Regions from separate parts of the Homo sapiens genome. Here all the other regions are linked to region 4. Evidence: promoter capture Hi-C in 16 types of primary human blood cells and fetal thymus (Javierre and others, 2016). All regions are on one chromosome and are shown on one strand. Each heading gives the region's core, a stretch centred on a gene start or on the middle of the fragment in contact. The rest is flanking DNA. Distances are from core to core; before and after follow the strand shown. Region 1 has its middle 1.9 kb from the start of TCEAL4. Region 2 has its middle 7.6 kb from the start of TCEAL1. Region 3 has its middle 5.6 kb from the start of TCEAL3. Region 4 holds the start of SLC25A53 (solute carrier family 25 member 53). Region 5 has its middle 13 kb from the start of LINC02589.

Region 1 (2,837 bases), core at 22-2,521, 570 kb after region 4:
CAACGATTAATTTATCTTAAGTGAGAAACTGAATATACAATGACCAGACCACATACGAAAATAGAACTGTGACCCACAACCTTTGCTGCAAGCAGCTCAAAAAGCCAAAGTATAGCATCTGCAGAAATGTTCAGGACTTTAATCAATTTGCTAGCCTTTCTGGCCTTTTTAATTTTTTTGACCTGATGACAAACAAGAAAAACCCAAATATGAACCCATATTCAATCACATAGGATGCTTGCCTCTAGTTGGCCTGCCTCTAGCTTCCTCACGTCAACAACATCCAATCAGAGCGTAGCTGAAGTCTTTGTGTTTTTGTTTTCCACTATAAAGCTTTCCCACTCCCCTGCCTGTCTTTGAATCTCTGCCAGACTCAAATGATGGTGGCTTGACTTCCTTGCTATAAAAAAGCTGTGAATAAGTAGCACTTGTTTGTTCTCTTATGGGTAGACTCCGTTTATCTCCACATAAGCTTTTGGTGTGGAAGGCCTTTATAGTCACGTGCCACTTAATAACGGGGATATGTTCTGAGAAATGCATCAGGCAATTTCGTGGTGGTGCGAACATCGTAGAGTGTAGTTATACAAATCTATATGGTATAGCCTACTACACTCCTAGGCTACATACTATAGCCTATCGTATTCTATGCTGTCCGTTGTCGTTGACCAATCGATACGCAGTGTGACTGTACAACAAAGAGACAAATGCTGATAGATTAGATTACATGAAAATTTTTAACAGATTTGTTGAAGGACTGGGGACACATGCACTCTCCCCTGCTCTTATTGAATATGTTGGTGAAATTTTTCTGAAGATCAACTTTGTAAATTATTTAAAAATAAAAATATCGGCCAGGCACGGTGGCTCACACCTGTAATCCCAGCGCTTTGGGAAGCTGAGGCGGGTGGATCACCTGAGGTCAGGAGTTCAAGACCAGCCTGACCAGGATGGTGAAACCCCATCTCTACTAAAAATACCAAAACTAGCTGGGCGTGGTGGTGGGCGCCTGTAATCCCAGCTACTCGGTAGGCTGAGGCAGGAGAATTGCTTGAACCCGAGAGGCAGAGGTTGCAGTGAGCCGAGATCACGCCATTGCACTCCAGTCTGGGCGACAGAGTGAGACTTCGTCTCAAAAAAAAAAATTAATATTTGATCTTTTGTGCCAGTAATTTCACTTCTAATAGTTACCCACAATGATAATTTTCTTTCTTCAACTTTTATTTTAAGCTCAGGGGCACATGTGCAGGATGTGAAGGTTTGTTATGTAGATAAACATGTGCCATGGTGGTTTGCTGTATAGATCATCTCATCACCCAGGTATTAAGCCTGGCAGCCACCAGCTATTCTTCCTTATGCTCTCCCTCCCTGCCCCCAGCAGGCCCCTGTGTGTGTTGTTCCCTGACATGTGTCCATGTGTTCTCATCATTCAGCTCCCAGTGAGAACACATGGTGTTTGGTTTTCTGTTCCTGCATTAGTTTGCTGAGAATAATGGCTTCTAGCTCCATCCATGTGCCTGCAAAAGACATGATCTCATTCCTTTTTATGGCTGCATAGTATTCCATGGTGTATATGTACCACATTTTCTTTATCTAGTCTATCATTGATGGGCATTTCAGTTGATTCCATATCTTTGCTATTGTGATTAGTGCTGCAATGAACATACGGGTGCATGTATCCTTATAACAGAATGATTTATATTCCTTTGGGTATATACCCAGTAATGAGATTGCTCAGTCAAATGATATTTCTGGTTCCAGGTCTTTGAGGAATCGCCACAGTCTTCCACAATGGTTGCTGATTTATACTCCCACCAACAGTGTAAAAGTGTTTCTTTTTCTCTGCAGCCTCACCAGCATCTGTTGTTTTTTGACTTTTTAATAATAGCCATTCTGACTAGCTTAAGATGGTATATCATTGTGGTTATGATTTGCATTTCTCTATCAGTGATGTTGAGGTTTTTTTCACATGTTTTTTGGCCTCATGTATGTCTTCTTTTGAGAAGTGTGTGTTCATGTCTTTGCCTACTTTTTAATGGGCTGTTTTTTTCTTGTAAATTTGTTTAAGCTTCTTGGAGACTGGATATTAGACCTTTGTCAGATGGATAAATTGCAAAAATTTTATCCCGTTCTGTAGGTTGTCTGTTCACTCTGATGAGTTTTGTTTGCTGTGTAGAAGCTCGTTAGTTTAATTAGATCTCATTTGTCAATTGTTGCTTTTGTTGCAATTGCCTGTGCCTATGTCCTGAATGGTATTGCCTAGGATTTTCTAATAGGGTTTTTGTAGTTTTGGGTTTTACATTTAAGTCTTTAATCCATCTTGAGTTAATATTTATATATGGTATAAGGAAGGGGTCCAGTTTCAATTCTCTGCATATTGCTAGCCATTTCTCCCAGCACTATTTATTAAATAGGGAATCCTTTCCCCATTGCTAGTTTTTGTCAGATTTATTGAAGATCAGATAGTTCTAGGTGTGTGGTCTTATTTATGAGTTCTCTATTATGTTCTGTTAGTCTATATGTCTGTTGTTGTACCAGTACCATGCTGTTTTGTTTACTGTAGCCTTGTAGTATAGTTAGAAGTCAGGTAGTGTGATGCCTCCAACTTTGTTCTATTTGCTTAGGATTGTCTTGGCTATTTGGGCTCTTTTTTGGTTCCATATGAGTTTTAAAATAGTTTTTTTCAATTCTGTGAAGAATGTCAATGGTAGTTTAATGGAAATAGCATTGAATCTATAAATTTCTTTGGGCAGTATGGCCATTTTCATGATATTGATTCTTTCTATCCATGAGAATGGAATGTTTTCCATTTGTTTGGGTCCTCACTGAAATCCTCTCTG
Region 2 (2,700 bases), core at 63-2,562, 520 kb after region 4:
TTAATGATTTAATAGAATTTTGCTGAGCAGAGAAGGGAAGGGCAGTCTAGACAGAAGTAGCAGCATCAGCAAAGGCATGCAGGCTTAGCCTCAAAGGCTTGACTAGACCAGACCAGTCAAAGTCTCACAAGAATTCAGATGACAAATGTCCATTAGAGAAGCCAGTTTGGCAGTGCCCCTAAATGCACCTCATGACCCAACAATTCCACTTCTAGTCACCAATCCTAAGAAATACACAGATATACAAGGAGGCATGAACAAGAAAGGCCATTTCAGCGTGTTTATAACAGTAAAGCACTGGAAACCTAAATCTCTATAATTAGGGAATACATTGCAGTATGTTCAGAGTCTGCAATAGGTGCAGCAGCTACATATGAACTAGATCTATAGGTAATAATATGGATAGATTTCCAGGACATACTATTGAATGAAAAAAAGAACATTTTGCTGAATGAAACATAGGATAGGATGCCATTTACGTAATGTCATTTAGAGCCTATGACTATATATGTATTTATATTTATGTATGTGTAAGTATATTATATATGTATACATGGCATCTATTAATATGTTTTTATTATAACATATAGTATATAAGTATATATGTACATATATACATATATACACATATATGTGTGTATATATACATATATACATATATATACACATATATATGTGTGTATATATATGTATGTATATAGTTTCTTATGTGAGTTACTGCTCCATGTACTTTGCCCATTTTCTATTGGGTGAGCAGAGTTTTTTACTTTTAAAAGATATTATGTCTAAATCTATAATATATGTTTAAATATTTCATTACAGTTTCTCATGTGCCATTTAATATTCTTTGAGATACATTTTTTACTTTAAATATTTTGAAAGATAATTCTTTATTAATTTTTCTGATTGCAGAAGCATGCTTGTAGCATAAAAATTCAAACCCTATAACAGTGGGGCATGAGAATAGCAGAGTGTTCACAAATTTTCTGACATCTAAAAGATGAATGCCACTAGATTTGGCAATGAGAGAGAAAGTGTGAAATTTTAGGAGCAAGCAAAGCATAATGGTTAAAAGGTCAGACTTAAGAGTCAGACAAATTTGAGTTCAAATAAAGTTCCTCCATTGACTGGCTGTGTGACCCTGTGTAAGCCACCTAAACTTTTCGGGGCTTCAGTTTTCTCATCTATAATAAGCAATACCTTCCTAAAAGTGTTAAAAGGATTAAAGGAAACTCCAAGTATGAAGTATCTGTCCCAAAGCAGGTGCTTGACCATTTTAAATTTCTTTCCTCAACTCCAAACAAAGCCAGTGATCTTTCCCTTGCCTTATGCTTTTTGGGGAGCCCATCCATACATGTGGCCCTCAGACATAGGTCCCTGAGACCAAAGAGCACAATTTTATTTTCATCATTGACATCACCATCAAGAAGTGTGGTTGATGGAATACTCATACAGATGAATGTCATGGCACATATGTAAATAAAAGTAAGAGAATAAAGAAAATAGGCTGGGCGCAGTGGCTCACGCCTGTAATCCCAACACTTTGGGAGGCCAAGGTGGGTGGAAAACGAGGTCAGGAGATCAAGACCATCCTGGCTAACACAGTGAAACCCCATCTCTACTAAAAATACAAAAGAAAAAGAAAATTAGCCAGGCATGGTGGCATGCCTCTGTAGTCCCAGCTACTTGGGAGGCTGAGGCAGGAGAATCGCTTGCACCCAGGAGGTGGAGGTCGCAGTGAGCCGAGATCGTGCCACTGTACTCCAGCCTGGGTGACAGAGCAAAAAAAAAAAAAAAAAAAAAAAAAAGAAAAGAAAACATATGCTCTGTAAGATATAATTACATATATAAAAATGAATACATAAAGGCATTTAAATGTATTATATATGTAATATAATATATATGTTTACTTTATAACAAAGTAAATGGATAGAATACATAAAAGGAGATATACACACACAATGTAAGTACATGCTCCTCAATATTGGGAACTGTAGGCATCTTCTTCTTACACTTTTCTGCATTTCCATATATTTTCTAGTAGAAATATATAACTTCTACAATCAGAGAAAAAGTGAAAATAGTATAAGACAATTCAGCTTAAACACACATACATATGCACACATAGATGCACACGCTTATCTTGACTTGAGACAAGGAAAAACCACCTAACTATATGTTGCTTCTTGGGCCACCTCAATCCCCAAGAAGAGCCTGATACTTGTGTGGTTCCAGTGTGAGTCAGGGTTGAGACATTCCCTTCCCAAATATCAAGCCTCTCCACCAGCTCTCCTCTCATAGTTTCTCTCCTCCCTGCTCTCCTTTGTTAGCCATGTTTGACCCACAATCCTGACTCTGATCACCGGGTGGCACTTACCTCAATATGTAAACATTCTCCTGAAACAGGTATTATCTTGGTAAAAAGAAAGTTTAAAGAAAAAGTTTATTTTTTTTACACACAGGATATGAACCAGTGTGTTCAGTAGAATCCCACTTCTGTTTGAAAAATACATATTCATAGAAAAGGATAGAAGAGTATACAATTGCATTCTTCATTCATTCATTTAATTCAACAAATACTCCTGGGCCACTTGCTATGTTCCTGGTATCATAAGCCAAAATTGATATTTCCATTCTAATCTCTTTTCCAAACTTCAAACACATATCTAACTGCCTACTAGACATTTCTACCTGGATTGA
Region 3 (2,830 bases), core at 215-2,714, 550 kb after region 4:
AGATGATAGGCGGGACCTACAAGGAGGTAGGGAGGGAAAACTCAGCTGTTTGACTATAGTTCCTGGTCTTACATTAATTATACTGGCCTATCTTTATTAAATGGTCAGGTTGCCCCAACTTGAAATCAAGGTCTCATCTGATTTGTCCCTCTCCCACAGACAAAGCTCTCCTTCCTGCTTCGCTGTATCTCCTGAATCTGTCACTACCTTAGAGCTTCACCATTTCTCATTTGAACTCTTAGAATAATCTCTTCTCTAGTTTTCCTGCTTCCAGCCCTGCCCCTTCCTTAAGATAAATCTTGTACATTACCATCAAATTAAACTTTACTCTTCCCTGCTTTTAACTGCCATTCTCCTGCTTGAAGGCGCTGACGGTAAACCTACCACCCACAGAGTAAATTCTGCACTCTTCATCCTGACATTCAGCATCCATCAGAATTGAGCCCCAGGACACACATTCTCAACCTAGTCATGCACTTCTCTGCCCTCACTCAATGTGCCCCAAGTATGCCTTATTCTTCCCTCTCATTGTCCTTATGTGTCATTTACTTCCTGCCAACTGCCTTCTTATTCCCCCTAGAGGTCCTAGTCCTGCCCATTCTTAGAGGCCAACCCTCATCACTCAGCCTCTGAAGCCACCCTAGCTGGAAGTGATCTTTCCTTCCCCTGTTGCACAGGGTCTCTACCTTTCATGTTGCCCTTAACAAAGGTTTTTGTACCATATATCCTTGTACCTTTCCACGTTTGTGTGTGTGTGTGTGTGTGTGTGTGCACGTGTGCACTGGGAGAAATAGTGGTAGCTCATCAGGGAGGTGGTCAGATGTGGGACATCAGATATGATCTTGTCTTCTATGGTCCCTATGCTGATACATGGTGATTTGCTCAGAAAATCTCAGTCTCCGAAGAAGCTGTTTTCCAATTGGCTCATAGCTGAACCTGCTTTCTGTGTTCACAAAGGTTGGAGTAGAGGTTTAACTCCTCTTCTGTTTAATGGGCTTTTGATATAAAAAGAAATTAATCACATTCTGAAAGAAGAGCCATCCCTGAACTCTCAAGTCTAGATCCCTTATCTGTTCTTTTAGCACCTTTATTTCCCCATTGTTAACACTCATTAGGTTTTGTAATTGGCTCTTTCCATTTCTGTATCCCCCTATAAGCCCCCTAAAGATGGAGACTGTGCCATATTCATCTTTGCATCCTCTTGCATGATTATTCAAATATCCCATTGATGAAAACAGGTATATATATGTGTGTGTGTGTGTGTGTGTGTGTGTGTGTGTGTGTGTGTGTGTGTATATGTATATATGTGTGTGTGTGTGTGTATCTGCTTCTGGTAATGGCGGACTAGATGATTTAGAGCAACCCACCCATTGAAAAGAACTACAAAACGTCAGATCTCTAAAAGGCTACAAAATTAATACAATTGTGAGGAATTGCTAGGTTATACTACAAGAGAACAGAAGCATCCAGAGAGGTAAGCCTAGGACTTAAAACTATATTTTTATTGAAGGTATCTGTGGTTGAGTAATAAGCCTGTGCTAAACTGCGTGGAACTTATGGCACATTCAAGGCACTATAGTAACAGAAGTCAGAGCCCAAGGCCCATCAAAAGGGGTGGAGTGTTTCCTGACAAACCATCACCCATAGTATGCTGGGAACCGCAAATGTTTATACCTTCAGGGTAATTGTAATCAAAAAATATACTAGCCCTTACAAAGTCTTGTAGCTTGGCTTTGCATCATCTGGGTGGACTAGTGAACTGTAAGTTCTGAACAAATATTATGGTGGTAACAAACAGGAAGCATTTTTTTTTTTTTTTTTTTTTTTTTTTTTTTTTAGACAGAGTCTCACTCTGTTGCCCAGGCTGGAGTGCAATGGCGCAATCTCAGCTCACTGCAACTTCCATCTCCCAGGTTCAAGCAATTCTTATGCTTCAGCCTCCTGAGTAGCTGGGATTACAGGCATGCACCACCACGCCTGGCTAATATTTTTGTATTTTTAGTAGAGACAGGGTTTCGCCATGTTGTTCAGGCTGGTCTCAAACTCCTGACCTTGTGATCCACCCACCTTGGCCTCCCAAAGTGCTGGGATTACAGGCGTGAGCCACCGCACCTGGCCAGGAGGCACTCTTATGGGCCTGACCAATGCAAATAAAATCTTCTCTAGAGTAAGATTTTTATCATCTTAGGCCTTAGATTATTACAACAATTGCTGAAATACAATATCCACACACAAAGATAACCAGGTGCACGAAAAAAATACGTTATGAGTAACAAATAGAAACAACAGGCAACACAAATAGATCAATATGATTTGAATTATTTGATTTATCAGGTACAGATTATTAAACCACAATACTTACTGTATTCAGATAAAACCTCATCTTGAAGATTTCAATATAAATAAATAAGAAATAAATAAATAAAATTCATATTTAAAATCTTCCAAAATGTTTCCGACCAGGAAAATTTTAGGCCCAGATAACTTCACTAGTGAAGAAAATAATATCCATCCAACACAGTCTTCCAGATAATTAAAAAAGAGAGAATACTCTGCAAGTCATTTTAAGATTTGGTATAACCTTAATATCAAAACCCGACAAGGTCATTATGGGAAAAGAAAAATATAGGTCAATGTAACTCATTGACATAACTGAAAAAAAATTTAAAGAAGAAAGAACCTGACCATATATGAGAATAATAATATACTACATACAAGTTAAGGTATTCCAGAAATGAAAGATTGGTATAATATTTGAAAATCAATTAATGTAATTTACCACATTAAGAGAATAAAGTCTAACAATCATATGATTATTTTAATAGATGAA
Region 4 (2,700 bases), core at 40-2,539:
AGCCTTCAAGGGAGAGATCTTTGCCTTAGTGGGTTCTGCCCTTCTGCTTCTGAAGAGAACCTAGTCTTTCTGTATGGGCATTCAGGCAATTCTTGGGGTGGGGAGTTGGGGGAGAGAGAGCACTTGAAAAGAATTTATGGTGGCCTTTTTCTCAGTGATATTTGAGAAATACCAAGACACATCTGAATGTATCTGAGTTTAAGTCTTGGCTCTATTTGTTATTAGCTCTGTGACCGTGGGCAAGTTATTGATTTATATGCAATCTGACTAATCTGAGTTTTCTTAGCTGCTTTAAGCAGACAAAGAGGACAGGAAAGGGTAATACACTTAAGAACCAGCAAAGGGCTATTGTGAGGATGAAGCAATAACAACAAAATGGGTTTAAAGCACTTATCATAGTGCGTGGTCCATAGAACTGCAAACGTTGGATTTTGCTTATTTTAGGACAGTACAAAGAGACTCTTTAATATACTCTTCTGACTCCAGCCAGAGTGGTAGTAATTTCCATATCAGCAGTCCCTAGAATCAGGTATTACAGCCTCAGCCTGGAGAGAACAGGGCAATCCCCTCTATCCCAGGTGAAATGATTATTATCATTTATTATTTATTAGCCAGAGGTCTTAGGTGAGATCAAATTCAATCATTATAATTTATATTTCAATATACTGCTTAACTTCATGATAGGCAATGTTCTAGGTGCTCCTCACATGTGAAATTTTAATATTTTTACTGCAACTCTGGAGGTAAGTACTATTATTATACCAATTCTACAGATGAAAAAGCCAAGGAATAGCATGCTTGAATCACTTGCCCAAGATGCCATGTTTAGATAGTGGTACAGTGGGGATTCGAACGCGGGAGCTCAGGTTTCAAAGTCTGTGCTCTTTACATATGCAGCTAAAGAGTCAGACAAGAACCAAAAGGAGATGGAGAATAGAGGGTAGAAAGGGCACAGGTTCAAGGTGAAAGGTCAGAAACTGCAAATTCGGAGTTTGGGTTGGTCTAGCAGCTTAAAGGCGTCATCATGAACTGTTCACCTAAGTAAGTTAAGCTCCTGTTTGAGAATGACTGATAAGCTTGCAAGCCAACTTACAAACAAACTGGGGAAATGTTCCAATAGATGACTAAGTCTTTTAGGTCTTTTTACCTGTGTTTTTCGGTCTCTATACCAGATTAGTCGCCTGGCTCTCCCAAACAGACCGGCCAACTGACGTAGTCGCGAAACGGTTAATGTCGAGGCGGGGGCGGGGGAGGCGGAAATAAAGAGAGCGGAAGCAAAGAGGATTGTGGGAGCTCCGTTGTGCGTCGCTTAAGTGAGGGCGGCGGATGGGCGAAGGTCCGGTGACTGCGACTGTCGCTGCTTTCTGAGGCCACAGGAAAGGGGCCGTCGGTCGCCGCCATGACAGCGAGCGAGGCGGAGGTTTGTAGCACTTCTTATGGGCTGAGGGCGTAGACACATCCTGCTTCCAGCCTAGCAGGCAAACGGGAACGGAAGTGATAGGGGATCAGAAGTTGCGAGGGGATGAGGAGTAGGGGAAACTGACAAGCGGACGGACCCGGCGGCGAGAATTGATGGCGTAGCTGTAGGATTAAGGGGCGTGTCAACTGTGTTGTGTGTGTTGACACTGAGATGTGTGAATCCCCTCATTATTTTTAGCTGGGGACAGGCGGGGTCTATGGGGGAGGGGGCGGACGGATGAATGGAGGATAAAATCAGGGCGAAAACGTGTTGTCTGCTGGGCACCAGTACATCTGAGTCACATCTCAGCAGGATGATTTTATTGGAAAGATCTAGGTCCCTGGTTTCAGATTCTGCTATTGATGCGTTGATTGATTTCCCTTACCAAAATACCAAGTACCTGCTCTGTGCTGGGTACTGCACTAGAGGCTCCGGATGAGGAAAGGAATTAGGCTTTTTCCTCGACATTTACAGCCTGCCGGTTGCTATCTGCATTTGGAGACAGGCTATTACAATACAAGGAGACAGAGATAGATCCTGTGTTATGAAAATCTATTGGGTGCCACCGAACTCATCTGGGAGTTGAGATCTGGGACGGCTCTTTGATGCGGTGATTTAACATATATTTTGAAGACAAAATAAGCAGGGCAAAAACGAAGTGCAATTTTCCTCCAAGCACCTTCCCTCCCTGTTGAGGTGAACTGGAGAACTGAGTAGCATTTAAGGCCCAAAATTAGTGTATTTCTTTTTTTTTTTCTTTCTTTCTTTCTTTTTTTTTTTTTTGATAAGGAGTCTCTCTACTTCTGTCGCCCAGGCTGGAATGCAGTGGCGTGATCTCCGCTCACTGCAACCTCCGTCTGCCGGGTTCAAGTGATTCTCCTGCCTCAGCCTCCCGGGTTGCTGGGATTAGAGGCACCCACCACCACTCCCGGCTAATTTTTATATTTTTATATTTTTAGTAGAGACGGGGTTTTACCATGTTGGCCAGGTTGGCCTCGAACTCCTGACCTCAAGTGATCCGCCTGCCTCGGCCTCCCAAAGTGCTGGTATTACAGGCATGAGCCACCGCGCCCGGTCCCCACAACTAGTTTATTTCTGGTAAGAGCATTTGCCCATCACAATGGGACTTCCAGGCGCCTCTGGAAGAATCAGTCTTACGTGAGTGCAAAGCCTGCAAGCTCTGGGTAGGACTACGATGGAGGTGCTAGTTACTTGGTTTTCCAGCAAACTCGGTTCACAGC
Region 5 (2,700 bases), core at 85-2,584, 590 kb after region 4:
ATGTACTCAAAGTGGAATTGATGGATCATATATTAATTGTATGTTTAATTTTTTGAGGAATTGCCATGCTGTTTTCCACAGTGGCTGTACCATTTTACATTTCCATCAACAATGCACAAGGGTTCCAGTTTCTCTGCATCCTTGCCAATACTTGTTATTTTTTTTTTCTCGTATAATAGCCATCCTAATGAATGTGAAGTGGTATCTCATTGTGTGGTTTGATTTGCATTTCCTTACTAATTAGTGATGTTGAGCATCTTTTCGTGTACTTATTGGCAATCTGTATATCTCCTTTGGAGTAATAGTCATTCAGGTCCTTTGCCGAGTTTTTAATTCGATTATTTTTTTTATTGTTGAGTTGTAGGAGTTATTTATATATTCTAAATATTAGTCCCTTATGAGATATATGATTTGCAAATATTTTCTCCCATTGCATGGATTGCATTTTCACCATGTTGTTAGTGTCCTTTGATGCACATAAGTTTATTTTGATAAATCCAATTTATCTATTTTTTGTTGCCTGTGCTTTTGTTATCCAAGAAATCATTGCCAAAACTAATGTCATGAAGGTTCCCCCCCATGTTTTCTTCTAAGAGTTTGATAGTTTTAGATTTACATTTAGGGCTTTGATCTATTTTGAGTTTATTTTTGTATATGGTGTAAGGGAAGTATCTAAATTCATTCTTTGGCATGTGGATATTCAGTTTTCCTCACATATTCATTAAAGAGACTGTCCTTTCCCTCATGGAATGGTCTTGGCACCCTTGTCAAAAATCAATTATCATATAAGTGAGAGTTTATTTCTAGGCTCTCTATTCTATCTCATTAGTTTATTTGTCTGTCTTTAATGCCAGTACCATACTATTTTGATTACTGTAGATTTTTGGTAAGTTTTAAAATCTGGTAGTGTGAGACCTCCAACTTTGTTCTTCTTTCTCAAGATTGTTTTAGTTATTCAGTATCCCTTGAGATTCCATATGAATTTTAGGATGCATTTTTCTATTCCTGCAAAAAACATCATTGCATCATTGAGATTTTGATAGGGATTGAATCTATAGATCACTTTTGTTAGTACTGACATCTTAACAATATTAAGTCTTTCAATCCATGAACACAGAATGCATTTCCATTTATTTCTGTCTTTTAAATTTTCTTTCATCAACATTTTGTAGTTCTCAGTGCAGATGTCTTTTGCCTCCTTAGTTAAGTTTATTCCTAATTATTATATTCTTTTTGATGCTATTGAAAATGGAATTGTTTTCTTAATTTTCTTTTTGGGTTGTTCACTGTCAATGTATAAAAATGCAACTGATTTTTATGTGTTGGTTTTGTATCCTACAACATTGCGGAATTTATTAGTTCGAACAGTTCTTTTGTGGAATCCTTAAATTTTTCTACAAACTAGGTAATGTCACCTGTGAACAGAAATAATTTTACTTTCTTTATAATTTGAATGCTTCTTTTTCTTCATGTAATTGCTTTGTCTAGAACTTCCAAAATTATTTTGAATGCAGGTGTCTTGTTCCTGATCTTAAAGGAAAGGCTTTCAGGCTTTCACCATTGAATTTGATGTTAGCTGTGGGTTTTTCACATTGGATTTTTAAAAGCCTCTTATTATTTGCTCATCCTGAGGCTATGAAGGAAACTCAAGAAACTTTTCTCACTGGATTTCACCTGCACTATATATAATTTGGGCCAATTCTTTCTTCTTGAGGTTATCAAACTATCTCAGAGGTCCTGGCCTTCGTTTCTCACCTATAAGGCTGGGACCCTGAAAGCCAGGTACTAAGTCAGTTTTCCTCAGTGGGCTTTCTAGTTTAAATTTTAATTCTCTAACTGTAGCTGGTTATACTTGATTAAGTGAGCATCATTCTCAAATATGATATTTCAGACAAGGCCTTATTTGCATAACCAAATTTGCCAATTATTAATATATCCTGGTTAAAAGGAGGACAAGTTCTTATTGAACCTGTATAGATCACTATATTACCATGAAAAGTAGAATACCTAATTTGAATTTGTGAATTCTACAGATGGTGGGGGTATCAGAGAGAAAAAGATAATTTGCAAATATTTTGTTTCAGTTTACAAATGCCAAGTCTACTAAATTGTTATGGGTTAAAGATATGTAAGAAAGACAAGTCTGCATTATATATCCAGAACATAGAACAACATCAGCAATATTTAAAAAAAACTACAATAATCCCTCATCAGATAATTCAGTCATATATGATTAACTCTTGTTCTGATGGATTTGGGGTTAGCAGTCTCATGAATCCATCTGCTTCTCAATTTAAAAAAATTCTGGAAATCCTCAGTCTATTGGTATGGTTTTTAAGTTGCTGAAGCAGTGACTTCAGAAGTTAGCCAGGCGCAGTGGCTCATGCCTGTAATCCCAGCAGTTAGGGAGGCTCAGGTGAGAGGATTGCTTGAGGCCAGGAATTAGAGACCAGCCTGGCCAAAATAGACCTCCATCTCTGCAAAAAACAACCAACCAACCAACCAACAACGACAACAACAACAACAAAAACACCTCAGCCCGGCATTGTGGTGCACACCTGCCATTCCAGCTACTTGTGAGCCTGAGGCAGGAGGATTGCTTGAGCCCAGGAATTAGAGGCTGCAGTGAGCTATGATCACAACAATGCACTCCAGCCTTGGTGACAGAGCGAGACCCCCATCTCAAAAAAAAAAAAAAAA

Evidence for each region. The method cuts DNA at HindIII sites, captures the fragments that hold promoters and counts their contacts. A CHiCAGO score of 5 or more calls a contact.
Region 1: a fragment that was not itself captured here is called in contact with the fragment with the promoter of SLC25A53 in region 4 in 1 of 17 cell types (monocytes); the score reaches 5.3 in monocytes.
Region 2: a fragment that was not itself captured here is called in contact with the fragment with the promoter of SLC25A53 in region 4 in 2 of 17 cell types (neutrophils and activated CD4 T cells); the score reaches 5.8 in neutrophils.
Region 3: a contact is called between a fragment that was not itself captured here and the fragment with the promoter of SLC25A53 in region 4, in 1 of 17 cell types (naive B cells). The highest score is 6.4, in naive B cells.
Region 5: a fragment that was not itself captured here is called in contact with the fragment with the promoter of SLC25A53 in region 4 in 1 of 17 cell types (total B cells); the score reaches 5.4 in total B cells.

Annotation. Positions count from the first base shown.
Region 1 is chrX:103,582,240-103,585,076 of GRCh38, reverse strand. It overlaps a transcript of TCEAL4 not described here. Among named protein-coding and RNA genes, the nearest start is that of TCEAL4, 1.9 kb to the left of the region's middle. The HindIII fragment of the contact is 1,593 bases long and covers 475-2,067 here.
Region 2 is chrX:103,635,189-103,637,888 of GRCh38, reverse strand. No RefSeq gene overlaps it. Among named protein-coding and RNA genes, the nearest start is that of TCEAL1, 7.6 kb to the right of the region's middle. The HindIII fragment of the contact is 8,309 bases long and covers 1-2,700 here.
Region 3 is chrX:103,600,936-103,603,765 of GRCh38, reverse strand. No RefSeq gene overlaps it. Among named protein-coding and RNA genes, the nearest start is that of TCEAL3, 5.6 kb to the left of the region's middle. The HindIII fragment of the contact is 2,991 bases long and covers 1-2,830 here.
Region 4 is chrX:104,155,598-104,158,297 of GRCh38, reverse strand. SLC25A53 (solute carrier family 25 member 53) reads left to right here and starts at 1,289. Exons shown (of 2, transcript NM_001012755.5): 1 at 1,289-1,420. It also overlaps a transcript of FAM199X not described here. RefSeq lists an enhancer at 1,216-1,515. The HindIII fragment of the contact is 6,927 bases long and covers 1,079-2,700 here.
Region 5 is chrX:103,566,312-103,569,011 of GRCh38, reverse strand. No RefSeq gene overlaps it. Among named protein-coding and RNA genes, the nearest start is that of LINC02589, 13 kb to the right of the region's middle. The HindIII fragment of the contact is 4,593 bases long and covers 1-2,700 here.